Linked DNA regions of Homo sapiens: region 1 is linked to region 2. Evidence: promoter capture Hi-C in 16 types of primary human blood cells and fetal thymus (Javierre and others, 2016). All regions are on one chromosome and are shown on one strand. The core of a region is centred on a gene start or on the middle of the fragment in contact, and the rest is flanking DNA. Distances in the headings are between cores, read along the strand shown. Region 1 holds the start of WDR20 (WD repeat domain 20). Region 2 holds the start of BAG5 (BAG cochaperone 5).

What was found. The method cuts DNA at HindIII sites, captures the fragments that hold promoters and counts their contacts. A CHiCAGO score of 5 or more calls a contact.
Region 1: a contact is called between the fragment with the promoter of WDR20 here and the fragment with the promoter of BAG5 in region 2, in 1 of 17 cell types (neutrophils). The highest score is 5.6, in neutrophils.

The regions. Positions count from the first base shown.
Region 1 is chr14:102,137,997-102,141,574 of GRCh38, reverse strand. WDR20 (WD repeat domain 20) reads right to left here and starts at 1,678. Exons shown (of 3, transcript NM_144574.4): 1 at 1,403-1,678. The coding sequence starts at 1,651. It also overlaps a transcript of HSP90AA1 not described here. RefSeq lists enhancers at 1,423-1,582, 1,593-1,642 and a silencer at 2,243-2,438. The HindIII fragment of the contact is 7,184 bases long and covers 1-2,795 here.
Region 2 is chr14:103,561,232-103,564,940 of GRCh38, reverse strand. BAG5 (BAG cochaperone 5) reads left to right here and starts at 2,284. Exons shown (of 2, transcript NM_001015048.3): 1 at 2,284-2,325. COA8 (cytochrome c oxidase assembly factor 8) reads right to left here and starts at 1,981. Exons shown (of 5, transcript NM_001370595.2): 1 at 1,817-1,981. The coding sequence starts at 1,939. RefSeq lists a silencer at 2,027-2,676 and enhancers at 3,017-3,066, 3,166-3,679. The HindIII fragment of the contact is 16,544 bases long and covers 1-3,709 here.

The sequences.
Region 1 (3,578 bases), core at 429-2,928, 1.4 Mb after region 2:
ACAAAGTTGGGAGTAGGAGTAAAACTTCAGCCCCTAGACTGAAGACTACTTCGAGCTTTTGCAATTCCAAACGAGGAAAAAAAAAAGGTCAAGCGATTTACCCTTAATAACTTCCAACAGCATACCCTAAATACAGTGGTACACTTATTATCATAAAGACTAAGAAAAAAAGATTCACCCTGAATCAAAGAAACAACTTTGCTACATTTAGATACCACTGTCATTTCCCTAGCTCTTGTAACAAGCGAAAATCCTGTACTGGATCTGGCTATATTAAATCCTGAAGAATGTTCACTCTTCAATATGAACAATTTATTTTCATGCTAACATGCATTTACGACTTAATCTTTTATCACCTTGTCCTATTTGGAGGTGCTGTGGGATGCATTAATTTCCTCACTCTTCCATGACATCAAGTCAAAGACTACAATCTCAAAAATAAGCAATTCTCAGTGAAAACATAGTTACATAGCCAATGAAAGAAAAACTCTAATAAATGGCTGCTTTTAAAGAGATACTTTTAAAGGATGCTTACATGTTTCACAGAATTACCGGTAACTCGCCCGCCAAGAAGGATGGTCCCTTTAAAGCAGCTTTTAAAGCATATCACTCCCTGTTTGGGACACAGTCTGACTTGTTGGACAAGATTAATCTGGGCACTCTCACACAACCCCTCTGAACCAGCTTAGTTCACTGGAAACATCATTTCAACTGTAGTACTCAGCCCTTCGCATACTACAAGGGACAAGATGACTCTCCTTAACAATCTTTCAGAAGGTCCCCACGGCGGAGACAGTGACAGCCGTCCTCCCGCGGATGTTTTTGGAAATAGAAATGTTAACACCAGGAGAGGCTCCTAGGAAGTGTCAGTGCGGCAGCAGGTGGAGTAGCCCTGCGTGCCGAGCAGGTTCTTTCTGACCTAGTCTCAATGCTCCGCTTCCCGGCCCCGGTTCCGCCTTACAGAGATCTTGTTAAGCCGTCTTGCGTCCCTGTTCTCTAACCCAGGGCGAGACTTCCAACCCTCCAGGGAGGCGAGGCAATCGAAGCAGACAAGACGGCCACCTCACCTCTTCCGGGGACTCGCAGGCCCGCTCCCTGGCCATGTCAGAGCCTGATGGACCAGGCTGGAGGGGACGCAGCCGGCTCCCCCGGGAGCCTCCCAGCCAGAACCCCCGCGCCCCACGGTCCCTTTCCACTGCCCCCACCCCTTCGAAACGCCACCGCCACCACCCTCCTTACTCCTGAATCCCCTCTCCTCAGGAGTACCCCAGTGGAGTTACCGGCCCACTCAAAAGTAAGAGCGACGGCCACCCCTCTCGGTCACCCTGGCCCCACTGTCACCGCCCTGCTCCCGGCCTCTGCCTACGCCGCTGGCTGGCTCCGGTGACGCCCGGGTCGGTACCTTGCGGACCCCCTTGTAGATATAGAAGTACAGCTCCCGGCCCACATTGAAGCAGAGGCGGTCGCCGTTGCCAGACTGGTCGTTGAGGTTTACGAAGGAGACGCGGACAGGGTTGGATCCCTGCGAGTTGAAGGGCACCCGGTTGGGCCGGCTGTACTCCGAGTGCGGCAGCAGCTTGTACAGACCTTCCCGGGTGGTGAATTGGGTCTTAATCTCGTTCATCTCCTTCCCTCCTCCCTCCGTCGCCATCTTGGAAAGCAGCGTTCATCCTGCCCTAAGTGCCCGGATCACGCCCACCGCGCAGGCGCTGTTCCTGGTGCTCCCTCTTCCCCCACCCCCTGCCTCTTCCTTCTCGCCCCTCCCACCCGCGGGCCAGCCCTGCGAGGGCGGGCCAAAGGGAAGGGGTGGGCTTGTTTACGGCCCGACTGCGCAGGCGTGCTCACCTGGCGTGCTCCACCCGACTGGGCGTCCGCAGGCTCCTCCCCCGGGTGTGGCCTCCGGGCGGCATGGCTGCTTCCCAGGTGATGCCGGCTTCAGCTAGTGGGGTCTAGTTGACCGTTCCGCAGCCGCCAGGGCCAGCGGAAAGCCGGTCAGGGGGAACCGCGGCGGGGCTGGTGTCATGAGCCTGAGGTGAACTTGAGGGTGCCTCCTCAGCGGTCTCCCGCCCTGCCCTGAGGGGCGCCGGGACCCCAAAGAGCGGAGGAAGAGCGCCACCCCGACGGCCACCGCTTCGGAGCCAGCACGCGGGGTACCCTACGGGGAGCGCGGATGCCCCCGTGTTCGGGCGGGGACGGCTCCACCCCTCCTGGGCCCTCCCTTCGGGACAGGGACTGTCCCGCCCAGAGTGCTGAATACCCGCGCGACCGTCTGGATCCCCGCCCAGGAAGCCCCTCTGAAGCCTCCTCGCCGCCGTTTCTGAGAAGGTACCAAGGGACTCAAGATTTACGCTTCACTATGTTTTATTTCAGGCGGGGTAGGGGGAGAGAAGAATGTGGTACAGCATAGGTGTTCTCAAGCCAGATATCCTAATTCCTGCGTGTGATGAGCACTGGCGGCCTCCGCTTCTTAGCGGAGGTTTGTCCTCTCCAGCTGTTCAGAAACACGGGGCGGGGAAGCGCTTTGGGAACCGGGGACTGAATCTTTTTAGGATTCACTGATCTTGCTCAGTAGGTTACGAAGAGCTCTTAATAAAATTTAAGGTAATTGTTTTTTTTTCCAGAAGCCTCAGGTGGAGTCTGTGAGATTATTTACTAGTAGATCCATAGGGATAGTTGTATGCATGTAATGTACAGGGTCTAGATTTATAAGGACGGGCACACGTGTCAAAGTAAGATTCAACAATCACTATTTTATACCTGGGTTTCTTGGCATGTTACACCAGAATAAGAAAGCTTCTAAAGTGACAGAAACATTCTAATAGAATTCCAGGGAGGGGGGAAGCCAACATTTGTAACACCAAGAATGATCTATTCCTGGAAGTTCAGATTATATCTGGAGGGGCACAAAAGAAGTGAATGGAGAGAATTTCTAAAGTAGGAGGAGTGTAAATCATAAACATCTTCCGTATTAAAAAGCAAGTAGATACCAATAGAAACTGTGCCAATGATGTAGTAATACATTTGATAATAACATCTTTAGCCTTTGTAGTGTTGGAAAAAAAAAAGAAAAAAAAGCACTGAAGTACTTCTTAATTAATAGAGCCTGAAAAATACTTAAAATTTTTTCTTAGAATTGTTTTGATGTTATCCGACTTTCCCTAATCTTAAAACACCAGGGTATGTTCTGTCGTTACCATGGCTATATCCCAAACTCCATAACTGTGTTATTTTACATTGAAAACACGTATTTTACAATAATCAACTTGAAGGATAGTGGCATCTTGAATCATCTAAAAATAATTTATCTGTGTTTCCTAATTATCAAGAGGAAAAAAAGTATAATTTTTGGGGGGGGAAAAAAACCCAGCGAGCAAAAGTTAAAACAAAATTTTGTATTATTCTTCAATTAACCATAACATTGTATTTCCCATAATACCTATATAATTCAAGCATTCTATCAAGATTTTACCCTATATAAATTCAACATTTTATTATAATCACAGTAATAAACTGTTCACTTTGTCTCATGCATAGCCTTTGGTTTAGTTTTGTTTTTTTTTTCTTAGATGGAGTCTCGC
Region 2 (3,709 bases), core at 1,035-3,534:
GTCTCTCATCTTGAGAACAGACCCATGGTAAGATTTATTTTACTTTAACAAGAAGTCTAAGGCTGAGAGTGGTGGCTCACACTTGTAATCCTAGCACTTTGGGAGGCCCAGGCAGGCGCATCACTTGAGGTCAGGAGTTTGAAACCAGCCTGGCCAACAGGTGAAACCCTGTCTCTACTAAAAATACAAAAAAATTAGCCGGGCATGGTGGTGGGCCCCTGTAGTCCCAGCTACTCGGAAGGCTGAGGCACGAGAATCGCTTGAGCCCGGGAGGCAGAGGTTGCAGTGAGCTGAGATCACGCCACTGTACTCCCACCTGGGCGACAGAGGGAGACTCCAACTCAAAAAAAAAAAAAAAAAAAAAAAAAAGAAGTGTATATGACAATAGAGAAATCCTTATTTGGGTGCTGTTGTTTCTTTCCAGCACAAGTTCACAAAATAAGCTAGGGAAAATCCCCCCCGCCCGGGAAATGTCTTGGTTGATTTCCCGTTTGCTCTCTTAGAGCATTTTCAGACACCTGCTCTATCTTTCTGCCCAAAGATAGAGATGCTGGGTGGGTTTCTATGTTCTAGGGATAGAAGGCAAGGACTTGGTCACTGTAACACAGAACTGAGCTAGCCACTTGGGTGTCTGGTTGGCAAGTTGCCCTGGTAACTCCTTGTTTAAATTGTAAACTAGATAGACCTTCAAAGCTACAATTATGAAAGTGTACTAACAGCCACAGCCCAACAGAAATGAAAATGTACAAGCAAGTACATTTGCAATTTTTAATTAGCTTTTTTTTTTTTGAGATGAAGTCTCCCTCTGTCGCCAGGCTGGAGTGCAGTGGCGCGATCTCGACTCACAGCAACCTCCGTCTCCCGGGTTCAAGCGATTTTCCTGCCTCATCCTCCCGAGTAGCTGGGTCTACAGGCGCGCGCCACTATGCCCAGCTAATTTCTGTATTTTTAGCAGAGACGTTTCACCATGTTGGGCAGGATGGTCTCACCTCTTGATTTCGTGATCCGCTTGCCTCGGCCTCCCAAAGTGCTGGGATTACAAGCGTGAGCCACGGAGCCCGTCCAATTTTTAATTAACACTTTTTTAATACTTCTTTAATTATTGTTTAAACCAAGTTTTCCAGCCTCCTTCATTAGCCTGTTTGGTATTTGCATGCTTTGCTTGAATATTTTATCTCCAGCCCATTCCACACCGTTAGTCAACATTTTCATCTGACAGACGGAATCAAGGCCTAGGCCTCCCTTAAACAAAACATCCCTCCCAAAAGTACCACTTATAAAAATTGCTTGCCACAGACATTCTTGCTACAGACATTCTTTGCGGATCTTTGGCCAGTAACATGCATATACCCACACATAGTTTGCAAATAACAACTATTCAACGTGAAGTGCTACAAAAGTACGATGATAAAGTGCTCGCCGCTTGAAGAAAAGCACTAATAATTGTAACAAAGCCAAAACACACACACACACAACGAAAAAAAACGCACGGTAAGCCAAGAGCTCTTTAAAAATAAAAAATAATCATTCTCGGGAACAAATAAGGTAGGTACAAACTTGCCAGGTGACTCTGTTACGCTTAAAGGTTCTGGCTGTCAACAGTCCCCGGCGTGGTGGCGGCGGCACCCTCAGTCCCATCCGACTGAGGGCGTTGATGCGGGAGCCTCGGGGCTGCGGGACTGTTCGGGATAGGACGCGAGAGCACCTGGACAAAGGCCTGAGGCGGCTGTGCAGAACAGGGAGTGGCCCCGAGGCCCGGGTTTGTCTTCCCTTCCGGTCACCCCTCCCGGCCCAATGTCCCCAGGCCCCTGCTTACCCCGCTGGGCGCCGTATCCCTGCGCTCGGCGCCGCGCTCCGGAGCGAGTTGACAGCCGCGGCAGGCGAAGGCGCGGCAGAGAGGGGGGAGAAAGGTCTTCTTCCCCGCCCGCAAGACCACCATGGCCCCACGCCCCCTGGCTCCCGCGGCGCACGGCAGCATTGCGACGGCGCGAGGGGCCGCTTTACGGCAGGGTCGCGAAGCCCGAGGAAGCGCGGCGGCGCGGCCGACCGTGCGCTTTCCCAGCGGTGCGACGGGGTGAGGGGGCGGCGGGCGGCGCGGGCTGACCCGGGCGGCCGCTCCTTGGTCGCGGTCACTCCAGGCTGCCTCGCTGCGCCGCTGGCGGTGGGCGTGGCGCTGCCGGCGGCTAGGCGCGGACGCCGGAGGAGGTGTCCCCGGGTTTAGGGGTGTTCGGCCAGGGGCGGGGCTGCCGGGCCCGGGCGACTGCCGGAGCTGCGGAAGTCGTGGAAGCGTCGGCGACGCATCGCGCGATGGCGCGGGCGGGACAGGTGAGCGAAGCGCGGCTTGTAGCCTTTTCCCTCTCTCGGGGGGACGAGTGGGGCACCACCTCCGCGCGGGGCTCCCCGCTGGGCCACCCCTTCGCCAGCGCCCAGCCCCGTGCGGCCTGTCGGATCAGGCAGGGCAGAGTCGGTCTCGGCGCTGTCCCCGCCCCTGGGGTCGGAAGCGACCGGGGCTGGCCGGGCCTGGTCTCTGGTGTCTCCGGCCGGGCCTCGGTTCCCCTCCTCCCCCGGCTTCCCCCGGCCGGGCCGAGCTCCCCTCGCGCGCCCATTGTGAGGTCACGTCCTGCAGGCGCGCCCTGGCACCCGGGCCAAGACGCCCGGAGCGGCTGCTGCAGCCAGTAGCGGCCCCTTCACCGGCTGCCCCGCTCAGACCTAGTCGGGAGGGGTGCGAGGCATGCAGCTGGGGGCCCAGCTCCGGTGCCGCACCCCGTAAAGGGCTGATCTTCCACCTCGCCACCTCAGCCACGGGACGCCAAGACCGCATCCAATTCAGACTTCTTTTGGGTAAAGGGCCAAGAGGGAAGGGCGAGGCGGGGAGGAAGCAGCTCGGGCCGCCTTCCCTCCGTGGCCTCCAGGACATCCGCCGGGGATAGATTATGCGTTTCCATTGGTTACCCACCTTGAGCGAGCCGTTTGATAGAAACCAAGAGCTTGAAACGTGCATTAGGCCATTGTGGACTCCCAGTGGGAGGCGAGTGAATGAATTATTCATAGTTACCACGTTTTCGCGGGTTGTTTTTTTTTGAGAGAGTGGAGCATGTTGGGGGCTGAGGAGGTGTTGGGCCTCGAAAGCCCAAGGTGGTGCCCTTCAGCGCTGTCCCGGTCGCTCTTCTTTACCTGTGGGGTTTTAATCTCTTCAGGGAGACTTCTGTGAGGGAAGATGTGTGAGGAGCTAAAAGGGTGGGGAGGGGAAGTGCACAAAGGGATGGAGAGAAACGAAGAAGCGGGGACCTTGGGGATGTCTGAGAGCCACTGGTTTTTGTTCTGGTTCTTTCTTTTGCTTAGAGTTTCTGGAAACTAGGCATAGCTGTGTGGCGGGGCGGGGTACTGTTAGTGTTCGGAAGGTTACAAGAGCTACTGTTTCACCTTTCATAAAGGTGCCCTGCTGGTTCCAAATAGTTTGTGTCGCGTACGGTGACTCACACCTTAATCCCAGCACTTTGGGAGGCGGAGGCGGGCGGATCGTCTGAGACCAGCCTGGGCAATATAGTGAGACCTGTCTCTACTAAAAATAACATTAGCTGGGCGTAGTGGTGTACGACTGTAGACCCAGCTACTGGGGAGGCTGAGGTGGGATGACTGCTCAGAAGTATACCTTTTTAAAATGAGAATTTTAGAATGACTTAATATACCATTAGTGTTCTGCAGAAGC